Linked DNA regions of Homo sapiens: all the other regions are linked to region 2. The links are contacts of gene promoters, found by promoter capture Hi-C in blood cells and fetal thymus (Javierre and others, 2016). All regions are on one chromosome and are shown on one strand. The core of a region is centred on a gene start or on the middle of the fragment in contact, and the rest is flanking DNA. Distances in the headings are between cores, read along the strand shown.

Evidence for each region. The method cuts DNA at HindIII sites, captures the fragments that hold promoters and counts their contacts. A CHiCAGO score of 5 or more calls a contact.
Region 1: a fragment that was not itself captured here is called in contact with the fragment with the promoter of CXCR3 in region 2 in 1 of 17 cell types (total B cells); the score reaches 5.2 in total B cells.
Region 3: a fragment that was not itself captured here is called in contact with the fragment with the promoter of CXCR3 in region 2 in 1 of 17 cell types (non-activated CD4 T cells); the score reaches 5.3 in non-activated CD4 T cells.
Region 4: a contact is called between a fragment that was not itself captured here and the fragment with the promoter of CXCR3 in region 2, in 1 of 17 cell types (naive CD8 T cells). The highest score is 5.9, in naive CD8 T cells.

What each region holds. Positions count from the first base shown.
Region 1 is chrX:71,294,812-71,297,511 of GRCh38, reverse strand. It overlaps NONO (non-POU domain containing octamer binding), which reads right to left. Exons shown (of 12, transcript NM_007363.5): 6 at 852-947; 7 at 465-661; 8 at 51-135. Among named protein-coding and RNA genes, the nearest start is that of ITGB1BP2, 5.6 kb to the left of the region's middle. The HindIII fragment of the contact is 894 bases long and covers 804-1,697 here.
Region 2 is chrX:71,617,083-71,619,782 of GRCh38, reverse strand. It overlaps CXCR3 (C-X-C motif chemokine receptor 3), which reads left to right and starts at 1,272. Exons shown (of 2, transcript NM_001504.2): 1 at 1,272-1,345; 2 at 2,324-2,700. The coding sequence starts at 1,334. The HindIII fragment of the contact is 3,713 bases long and covers 1,120-2,700 here.
Region 3 is chrX:71,244,900-71,247,599 of GRCh38, reverse strand. It overlaps ZMYM3 (zinc finger MYM-type containing 3), which reads left to right. Exons shown (of 25, transcript NM_201599.3): 13 at 90-255; 14 at 908-1,005; 15 at 1,088-1,247; 16 at 1,502-1,614; 17 at 1,758-1,932; 18 at 2,115-2,261. Among named protein-coding and RNA genes, the nearest start is that of ZMYM3, 7.9 kb to the left of the region's middle. The HindIII fragment of the contact is 1,618 bases long and covers 442-2,059 here.
Region 4 is chrX:71,140,309-71,143,008 of GRCh38, reverse strand. It overlaps MED12 (mediator complex subunit 12), which reads right to left. Exons shown (of 45, transcript NM_005120.3): 42 at 2,152-2,374; 43 at 1,639-1,779; 44 at 1,045-1,126; 45 at 559-834. The coding sequence ends at 791. LOC124905197 (a long non-coding RNA gene) reads left to right here. Exons shown (of 4, transcript XR_007068262.1): 4 at 1-463. Among named protein-coding and RNA genes, the nearest start is that of NLGN3, 3.2 kb to the left of the region's middle. The HindIII fragment of the contact is 5,236 bases long and covers 1-2,700 here.

The sequences.
Region 1 (2,700 bases), core at 1-2,500, 320 kb after region 2:
AGACATTACCTTTTAGAGTTGTTAGGGAAAAAGTGTTCGAGAAAAGTTACCTGAGCTCCAGTTGCTTTCGTTTTTGCACCTCTTGGTTGTGCAGCTCTTCCATCCTCCGAAGTTCTTCTTGGCGCCTCATCAAATCTAAAAAAACAACAGACTAAGAATATTCCTCATTGTCTTCATATAGATCTAATGACTTTCTTCAAATAAAGATCCAGAAAGCAAAGAGGATCTAATTCCTTTGGAACCACCTGTGGTGTCCAGATTCCAAAATGAAGTTATACCTATCATTTCCTTCTCCACAGAATCCAGTATCTCTGCCACATCTCCAAGCCTATTTATCTACCAAAATCAACGCAAACTAAGTATAAAAGCAGAGATGTAGGCCCTTCTGTTAATTGATACAAAGAAACCCATTTAAAAATGTCATTTTGTCCTTTCAGCTTTAAGACTTACAGGCCTAGACTCACCCTGTCTCATTAGCATGACCTGGTGCTCATGGCGTGCAGCTTCCATCTCCATCTCCAGCTTCTCACGAGCCTCCTTGATGTTGCGGTCCACTTGGTCCTGCTGCTGCTTCTCCATCTCAATGAGTGCCTTCCAGCGCATGGCATATTCATACTCAAAGGAGCCAGGCTGTGCAAATCTGGGTGGCTGCTCTCGTTCCCTATAGGCAAGGTTCCTAGGTTACTAACTTTGTCCAGAATTACCCCAGCTAAGAATTGCATTCCTTGTGAGGACCAAGATAATGGCTGCCAGTGAACATGTGCAGCAAAGACCTGCCTCTTTTACATATCCCTTTATAAGCTTTCTTAAGAAGGAAACACCTAATAGGGAAATCTATCAAGACTGCATACTTGTGAAATTGCTGGTTTTTTATAACCAGCTTCTCTGGAAGTCCCTCTTCATCATCTAACTGGTCCATGGGCTCCACAGTCACAGGACGAGGAAATCTGGAAGAAAGAACAAAGTTCAGTGTTAATCAAATCATACCCCACCAGGCTTCTTCTCTACACATGTCACTGGCACAATGAATTAGCTAGGGCTCAGGATTGGAGGCTTCTGAAGTTTTTATACCTAATGACATTATAAAAAATTTGGGGTTGGGCTGGGGGTGGTGGCTCACGCCTGTAATCCCAGCACTTTGGGAGGACGAGGCGGGTGAATCATGAGGTCAGGAGTTCAAGACAAGCCTGGCCAACATGGTGAAACCCTGACTCTACGGACGTCTGTAATCCCAGCTACTTGGGAGGCTGAGGCAGGAGAATCACTTGGACCCGGGAGACAGAGGTTGAAATGAGCCGAGATTGTGCCACTGCACCACTCTAGCCCGGGCTACAGAGTGAGACTGTCTCAAAAAAAAAAAAAAAAAGAAAAGAAAAAGAAAAAAGAAAATCTGGGGTTGACAGGACGAAATCAGGACTTAGATCTCTGAATACAGTCTCAAAAAGATATTCCAAGTAGGTAGGTGCAGTACTTAAGTACAGCCTAAACATCTACAGACACTCTGAGAAATGACTTGTGGTAAACACTAAGAGATACTGCAGGCACAAATCAACTTTTCAGAACTCTAAATCTTCAAAGTAAAGAGAGACTTAACACTGACTACATGACAACCTACCGAATGACTAAAAAGTTATTTTTCATAATCGTCATCCCACGTCTATTAATATAAGATTACAGAAAAATCATACGAGAAAGCTTAGTACCAAAAGTCTTTTTTTTTGGAAACGGAGTCTTCCTCTGTCGCCCAGGCTAGAGTGCAGTGGTGCAATGTCGGCTCACTGCAACCTCTGCCTCCCGGGTTCAAGTGATTCTCCTGCCTCAGCCTCCCGAGTAGCTGGGATCACAGGCGCCCACCACCGCGTCCAGCTACTTTTTGTATTTTTAGTAGAGACGGGGTTTCACCACCTTGGCCAGGCTGGTCTCAAACTCAGGACCTCGTGATTCACCCGCCTCAGCCTCCTGAAGTGTTGGTATTACAGGCATGAGCCACCATGCCCAGGCTAATACCAAAAGTCTTTTTTTTTGGAGACGGAGTCTTGTTCTCTTGCCCAGGCTGGAGTGCAGTGGCGCAATCTCGGCTCACTGCAAGCTCCACCTCCCAGGTTCACGCCATTCTCCTGCCTCAGCCTCCAGAGTAGCTGGGACAACAGGCGCCCGCCACCACACCCGGCTAATTTGTTGTATTTTTTAGTAGAGACGGGGTTTCACCGTGTTAGCCAGGATGGTCTCGATCTCCTGACCTGGTGATCTGTCCCGCCTGGGCCAAAAGTCTTTTTTTTTTTTTTTTTTTTGAGACAGAGTCTTGCTCTATCGCCAGGCTGGAGTGCAATGGCACAATCTCGGCTCACTGCAACCTCTGCCTTCCAGGTTCAAGTGATTCTCCTGCCTCAGCCTCCCAAGTTGCTGGGACTACATGTGCGCTAATTTTGGTATTTTTATTTTATTTATTTGTATTTTTAGTAGAGACGGGCTTTCAGCATGTTGGCCAGGATGGTCTTGATCTCCTCAACTCATGATCTGCCCGCCTCGGCCTCCCAAATTGCTGGGATTACAGGCGTGAGCCGCTGTTTTGCCCAGTCTTTTATTTATTTTTTTGAGGCAGTTTCACTCTGTTGCCCAGGCTGGAGTGCAGTGGCGTGATCTCAGCTCGCTGCAACCTCTGCCTCCTGGGTTCAAGCGATTCTCCTGCCTCAGCCTCCC
Region 2 (2,700 bases), core at 23-2,522:
AAGCAACTGCTTTTATGAATTTGTGGTATCTCCTGTCCCTGTTTTAAACCTCGAGAACCAACAGTGTTATCCAAAACAACATGGTATTGATTTTGTGGTGGTTTTTAGAGTTTATGTAAGTGGCATCAAACTATACATGGCATTCTGTAACTTGCTTCTTCTACCATGTGATCGTTGGCTTTTCTAGATGCATCCATGTTCAAATGTGTAGCTTTAGTTCATTTGTTTTTAACTGCATGAATATATCATAGCTTATTCACTTAAAAGAAACTGAAGACAGTGTTCATGAGTAGGAAAAGGAGAATCAGACAGCCGTGGGATCAATCCTCACGCCCACCTTTAATTGCCGTGTCTGGCGAAGGCCTGTCCCCTTTCTGAATCATCCATGCAGATAACCCCGCACGTCACAAGTGAGTTGTGTGGTTGAAATAAGGCAGTGTCGGAGAAAGCACCTAAAGCAATGTCTATCACATAGCAAGTTCATTACTGGTAGTTCCCTTTCTTTTTCCCCACTGATTAGCAGGGAGAGGTGGTGGTAAAAAGCTAGATTTAGTGTAACGGCTTTTTAAAAAAATATTTTAATTCCCTTTTTAAGAGACAGGGCCTCACTCTGTCACCAGGCTGGAGTGCAGTGGTACAATTATATCTCAAGGCAGACTTGAACTCCCGGGCTCAAGCAATCCTCCTGTCTCAGGCTTCCAAGTAGTTAGGACTACAGGCACATGCCACCATGCCCGGCTGGCTTTTTTTATTTTTGGTAGAGATGGAGCCTCGCTATGCTGCCCAGGCTGGTCTCAAACTCTTGGCCTTAAGTGATCCTCTTGCCTCAGCCTCCCCAGTAGCTGGGATTACAGGAATGAGCCACTGCACCTAGCTGAAATTTTTAAGAAGGTGGATCTCCTCTGCAGACTTATTTCTCTACCCAGCCTTTACAATCATGCAAAGATCAACTCAAGGCCAGGACAGATGAGTTCCAATCTATGGAGCACTGACCCTACCAGTGCAGGCAGTAGGGTTGCCCTTCACTTCTCAGCTGCATTGCTTCCTCTTCAGACCTCTCTTCTCAAAGGACCTGCCCCCAGCCAGTCATCCTCTGCCCAGCTTTTCTGGTCCCAAGCTTGTAGCCAGCTCCTCCAGAGAGGTTTCACCCAGTCACGGAAACTCTGTGGCCTGAGGTTTAGGGAGGTCTGGTAGAGGTAACTCCCTGGAAGAGGCTGCTGCTGAGAACTGCCTGAAACTCCCACTTCCTCTGTGACTGCAGGTTTCCAACCACAAGCACCAAAGCAGAGGGGCAGGCAGCACACCACCCAGCAGCCAGAGCACCAGCCCAGCCATGGTCCTTGAGGTAAGTGCTGCTGCCCAGCCAGGCCAGGCCAGAATTCGAAGTGGAAAACCCGGGGCATCAGGGGAATGCCAGGGCTGGCCCACAGCCCAGGGTCACCACAGGGTTGGGTGAGTAGCTGGAGGCCGCATGGGTTGTGGCAGAAACAGCACTGGGGAATTGGGAACCCAGCTTGGCCACTGACCCTGGGTGCCTCTCCTCTCCTCTCTGGCTTCGGTGTCTCGTCTGCAAAATGGGGGGGGCGGGGGGCAAGTAGACTCGAAGGCTCCCTTCAGGAGACTTGGAACTTTGACTCTTGGCGTGCTGGACTAAATTGGTACTGGGGAGACCTGCAGGTCCATAGTGCTGGGGGTGAGGGGATAAAGAAGATTCCTTCTCAAGCTAAGTGGGGGATCCCCTTGTGGGCAGCTAAATGGCCGTGCAAGCCTCAGTGTAGGGAGGGGGAAGGACTGGGCAGACTGCATGCATTTGGGGGGCGTGGTGACTTGTAGAGAGGCCACACGGTGGGGGGGGGCGCAGGAAGTTGGGGTCCCCGGACAAGGGCCAAGGAGGGAAGAGGAGGGTTAGTGACTGGAAAAGGGGATTGTGGAGAGGCGCTGGGGAGGAAGGTGGTTGAACTATGTGTTGGGGGTGGGGCACTGAGGACGCAAGGCAAGCCTGAAGGGAGAGCAGGGAGAGAGAGGACAGTGGGCAGAGAGGGCTCTGGGCACTGGAGGGACGCTCTTCTTCCTGCCCAGGGGTCCCTGGGCCGATGGGATCACGCAGAAGAATGCGAGAGAAGCAGCCTTTGAGAAGGGAAGTCACTATCCCAGAGCCCAGGCTGAGCGGATGGAGTTGAGGAAGTACGGCCCTGGAAGACTGGCGGGGACAGTTATAGGAGGAGCTGCTCAGAGTAAATCACAGACTAAATCAGACTCAATCACAAAAGAGTTCCTGCCAGGCCTTTACACAGCCCCTTCCTCCCCGTTCCCGCCCTCACAGGTGAGTGACCACCAAGTGCTAAATGACGCCGAGGTTGCCGCCCTCCTGGAGAACTTCAGCTCTTCCTATGACTATGGAGAAAACGAGAGTGACTCGTGCTGTACCTCCCCGCCCTGCCCACAGGACTTCAGCCTGAACTTCGACCGGGCCTTCCTGCCAGCCCTCTACAGCCTCCTCTTTCTGCTGGGGCTGCTGGGCAACGGCGCGGTGGCAGCCGTGCTGCTGAGCCGGCGGACAGCCCTGAGCAGCACCGACACCTTCCTGCTCCACCTAGCTGTAGCAGACACGCTGCTGGTGCTGACACTGCCGCTCTGGGCAGTGGACGCTGCCGTCCAGTGGGTCTTTGGCTCTGGCCTCTGCAAAGTGGCAGGTGCCCT
Region 3 (2,700 bases), core at 1-2,500, 370 kb after region 2:
AAGGGGAGGAGCATGGCTTATCCCGGGGGAAAGAAAGGGCCCAACGCATTTTAGGGAGGCAGGTCTGACCATCCTTTTGACATCCTCAGGCTGCCCGGTGCCATGCGTGTAAGCGCCAGGGGAAGCTGCTGGAGACCATCCACTGGCGTGGGCAGATCCGTCATTTCTGCAACCAGCAGTGTCTTCTGCGTTTCTATAGCCAGCAGAACCAACCCAACCTGGATACCCAGAGTGGGCCCGAGAGCCTCCTGAACAGTGAGTCCCAGGCAGGGGGTACACTCTGTTAGAGGGAGCCTGGACTCTCCTAATCCTAAGCCTAGCCCCTTTCTCCTTCCTCTTGCGTTCAGCTCACCCCTGGCCAGATAGGGTGCTAGTACTGTGAACTGTATTCTCTTTTAGCTTCCGAACCCTGCAGGTACCGGGGGAGTCTTATTTAAAGCTTCTTGGAGTTAGCATCTACTGATTGTCTATGAAATATATATTGTTAGGGAGTGGGTGCCTTTCCTGGTAGGATGGAGCATATAGGGGTTATGGTTACGTTTCTGAGATAAGGAAATCTCAGCATAAACTCTACATTTAGTGAGACTGAAGACTGCTATTTCTAGAATGTTACCCCTGCCCCTCCACAACTCCAGGGATAACAGACTCTTCAGGCTATCTAAGTGGAAGGTCTCAAATGTGGGTTTTGGGGGAAAATGTAATGTTTCATTCTCCAGGAACAAATAATCTTTTAGGCTGCTATTGCTGGGGCATAGAGGAGACTAGATCTGGGATGGCAAGGGGGTCAAATCCTAGAAGTTCCCATCTGTATTTGGTGTACCTGTTAATGAAGCTCTCCTGGAACAGGGGTAAGGAAAATGGAGAGCTAGTCCCTTGGATGAGAGCATTCATTTGTTTTGATCTACAGGTCAGTCTCCTGAGTCAAAACCCCAGACACCCTCTCAAACCAAAGTGGAGAACAGCAACACAGTGAGGACCCCAGAGGAAAATGGGAATTTGGGCAAGGTCGGGGCAAAAGCCAAGGGGGAGGATAATCTCAGAGGAGGGTACGGCGGTTGGTGGCACAAATGTTCCTCTGTCTTTGCAGATCCCTGTGAAGACCCGATCAGCTCCCACTGCTCCCACCCCTCCACCCCCACCACCCCCAGCAACACCCCGCAAAAACAAGGCTGCCATGTGTAAGCCACTGATGCAGAATCGGGGCGTCTCCTGCAAGGTGGAGATGAAGTCCAAAGGAAGTCAAACAGGTGAGCCAGGGTACCTCGATGCCACAGGCTGTATTCCAGAGTCCTAGGCCTGCCAGCCCTATGTCCGTGAGCTGGACAAGGGGATTTCTTAGGTAGCTGAAGCCTCATTCATATGGTTGTCCTAGAATCATAGAGGTGTCTTTCAGCCTTTGATTCAAGGGCAGTTTTGTGACACTGAGCATGTTAGAGCTTTTGGTGGGTCAGATGTGACCAGTCCAGCAGGGTCTCTGAGAAGACCCCTTTCTTATCCACAGAAGAGTGGAAGCCACAGGTGATCGTGCTGCCCATCCCAGTGCCCATCTTCGTGCCAGTGCCTATGCATCTGTACTGCCAGAAAGTCCCGGTGCCTTTCTCGATGCCTATCCCGGTGAGTTTCCCTGCCCTTCCTGGCTGGGTCCTCCTTTCCCCTTACTCTCATCAACTGTCCCCCTTCACTCATCATCTGTCCCCCCAACTTCCCCCCAACTGCTGGTGTGGTTCTTGGCATTTAGTTGGGATTCGTGCCTCCAGGTGCCTGTGCCCATGTTCTTGCCCACTACCTTGGAGAGCACAGACAAGATTGTAGAGACCATTGAGGAGCTGAAGGTGAAGATCCCTTCCAACCCCTTGGAGGCCGACATCCTGGCTATGGCAGAAATGATTGCAGAGGCTGAGGAGTTAGACAAGGCCTCATCTGACCTTTGTGGTATGCCATAGATGGTGGCGACGAGGGAGACAGGGTGCTACCAGCATGTCTCTGCCCGAGGGGGTGGTATTGGTGATCTTGGTGCCTAGTAGAATGGGAGGATAGTTGGGATCAGTCCCTGAAAGCTTGTGAGGGTGCTAGCAGGAGCTTGTAACCACTGAGCCAACTTCTCTGCTTCCCAGATCTTGTGAGCAACCAGAGTGCAGAGGGACTCCTGGAAGACTGTGACCTGTTTGGGCCTGCTCGAGATGATGTCCTGGCCATGGCAGTCAAGATGGCCAATGTCTTGGATGAGCCTGGGCAAGACTTGGAGGCAGACTTCCCTAAGAGTGAGTAAGATTGGAGCCATGCCCACTGAGTATGGTAGCATTTGTGCCATCAGGAAGGGAGTGTCCCTTGTGTCCCTGAGCATGACCCTGAAAAGTGTTCATTGTGATTCTAAGACGGAAGGTTCTCACAGGGAGCAGTGCCAGAGACACCAGGACAGGTGCACTCTTTTAGACTTCTGAGTCATGCTTTTTTTTTTTTTTTTTTTTTTTTAATTTTTAAGCTGAAAAAAAACATAAAATTTTACCATGTTCAACATGTTTACGGTTCAGTAGTTCACATTGCTGTGTTTTGCGTTTCTGTGCCTCTGAGCATGCTTTTTGGTATAGCTTTACTGGTTCCTTTGGCTCATCTAGTGTCAAGTGGGCAAGTAGCAGGGGTGGGGCAGGAGGGCTGCAGGGTTGAGATCTTAAGAAATTGATTTCTTCTTTCTTTCCTTTT
Region 4 (2,700 bases), core at 186-2,685, 480 kb after region 2:
CCTGGGCGACAAGAGCAAAACTCCATCTCAAAAATAAATAAAAAGAGACTAAGGGCCTATACCTTAATGTGTTGCCATGTTGAAGAAGAGGAAGAGAGGGTAGCAATCCAATTAGAATTAAGAAATTTAGGCCGGGCGCGGTGGCTCACGCTTGTAGTCCCAGCACTTTGGGAGGCTGAGGCAGGTAGATCATGAGGTCAGGAGTTCGAGACAAGCCTGGCCAACATGGTGGAACCCTGTCTCTACCAAAAAAAACACAAAAATTAGCCGGGCGTGATGGCACATAACTGTAATCCCAGCTGCTCGGGAGGCTGAGGGAGGAGAATCGCTGGAACCCGGGAGGCAGAGGTTGCAGTGAGCCGAGATCGCGCCACTGCACTCCAGCCTGGGCGACAGAGCAAGACTCCGTCTCAAAAAAAAAGAAAAAAAGAAATTTTAGAGTGTAAGGTAAACAGGGGAGATGATCAGAATAGAATGAAGACTCTGACTTGTTGGTCCAACCCCCTGCATTCTCCCAAGAGACCACCCTTCCCAGACATGCAGAACTCGCACACTCCCTTTGCAAAGAAGCTCTGTGTATTGGGTGCAACAGCTCTGGGGTCTCTATATAAATAATATACAAAACCCAACAGCTCAATGCCTCACATTAACAAAAATACTAAAAACTTATTAAAAATGGAGCCTGAGGGGAGGGCCCCAACCACTACTGGTGCTAGCCCAGGAATGGGATTGGGAATTAAGAGGAAAGGGTGGGGCCACATCCAGTGCACAAGCAGTTCCTCCAGGTGGCTCAGTAGCGTCCAAATATGTTGGTACTGGGCTGTGGCTGGGTATCTGTGAAAAACCAGAGATTATCAGGGATGGAAGACCAGGCAGGGGTGTGGGTATGCACGAGGAAAGCTGTTCAGGTATCGAGGGAAGGGGATGGAATGGAATGCCTCCTCTCATAACCTGGGCCTGAAGCTATCGTTTCAGCTACTTTGGCCCACCCCGCCCCCTAAATTTATTCCATGGGGTTCTCCTTGGGAAGGCAGGCAGGCTTACTAGAGAGCTGTTGTTGAAGTTGCCGGACCAAAGCTGCTGTCTGTTGCTGCTGCTGGGTCTGCTGAAGCCCCTGGCGCTGGAACTGGGTGGAAATAGGAAGTGGAAGACTGAAGTCGAACTTTTCTCCTTCTTCAACCTCCTTTCCCAATCCGTTTTTTTTTTTGAGATGGAGTCTCGCTCTGTCCCCCAGGCTGGAGTGCAGTGGCATGATCTTGGCTCACTGCAACCTCTGCCTCCCAAGTTCAAGCAATTCTCTGCCTCAGCCTCTTGAGTAGCTGAGATAACAGGCACCTGCCACCATGCCCGGCTTATTTATTATTATTATTTTTTGTATTTTTAGTAGAGACGGGGTTTCACCATCTTGGCCAGGCTGGTCTTGAACTCCTGACCTCAAGTGATCCACCTGCCTTGGCCTCCCAAAGTGCTGGGATTACAGGCGTGAGCCACTGCGCCTGGCCTCCCAATCCATTTTTAGGGTGCCATGCCCTGCCTCCCACCTCTACCCTATTCCATACTGTCCCCAACCCAGTTCACTGGCTGCGTGCCCAACCTGGGCAGCTGTCCCTGAGCCTGGGGCTGTAGTCCAGCAGCTACCTGGGGCTGGGACTGGGGCTGGGGTTGGGGAGGAGCCGCCTGTTGCTGCTGTTGCTGCTGGTGTTGCTGTTGTTGCTGTTGCTGCTGCTGCTGTTGCTGTTGCTGCTGCTGCTGCTGCTGCTGTTGCTGTTGCTGCTGCTGCTATAAGAACACAAAAGATACTTCAGAAGGAGCAGAGGGAGGAAGCTAAGCCTCAGAACTAAAGGGCTGAGGGCAGGGGATGAGGAAGCAGGGTGGGAGCTCGGGGTCTACTGCCTTCCCTTTTTAGACAGCTGCACAGAAAGAAACCAAATCTAGGGTACCCAGCAGACAATGTCCAACTCTCTCCCACTATGATCCCCAGAAAACAAAAAGGGGGAGGGTAGAAAACTTCTCCAGCACCACTAGAGGCCAGCCGCTCTGCTAGGTGTTTTGGTACACTGCCTTGTTTAGTCTCGGTAACTGTGTGGGAAGAACTTGTGCCTCTCTTCCTCCCTGGGCTCCCAGGTCCCAGATGAAATCCCAGTGCCTTACCCGCAGGATCTGCTGCTGCTGCTGCTGCCGGATGTGGTACTGCTGCTGCTGCTGCTGCTGTTGCTGTTGCTGCTGCTGCTGCTGTTGCTGTTGCTGCTGTTGCTGCTGCTGCTGCTGCTCAGGTAGGATGGCTGTTGAACGGACGCCTGCCTGGACGCCCTGGGCACTCATTGGAGTCATGGTACTTATCATGGGTGTCTGCTGCAGTGTCTGGTGTGAAAACCTCCAAAGATAAGAGGGTCAGAGGTCAAGGCATGAGGGAGGTGAGGAGAGGGGGTCAGTATAAACCTTGGGTCCCTGACCTGAAAGAAACGTTAGCAGGTTATTTCATTCATTCCTCGTGTCACTAACCAGACTTCCAGTCTGGGGAATAAGTTGCATAAGATGATACTCTATTTTAGTGTCTCATAACCTTAATGGTTAGGAATTTTTCAATTCTGCATTAGCTATTTTTCTGTTACAAAAATGAAAAATAGGGCTGGGTGCGGTGGCTCACACCTGTAATCCCAGCACTTTGGGAGGCTAAGGTGGGTGGATCACTTGAGGTCA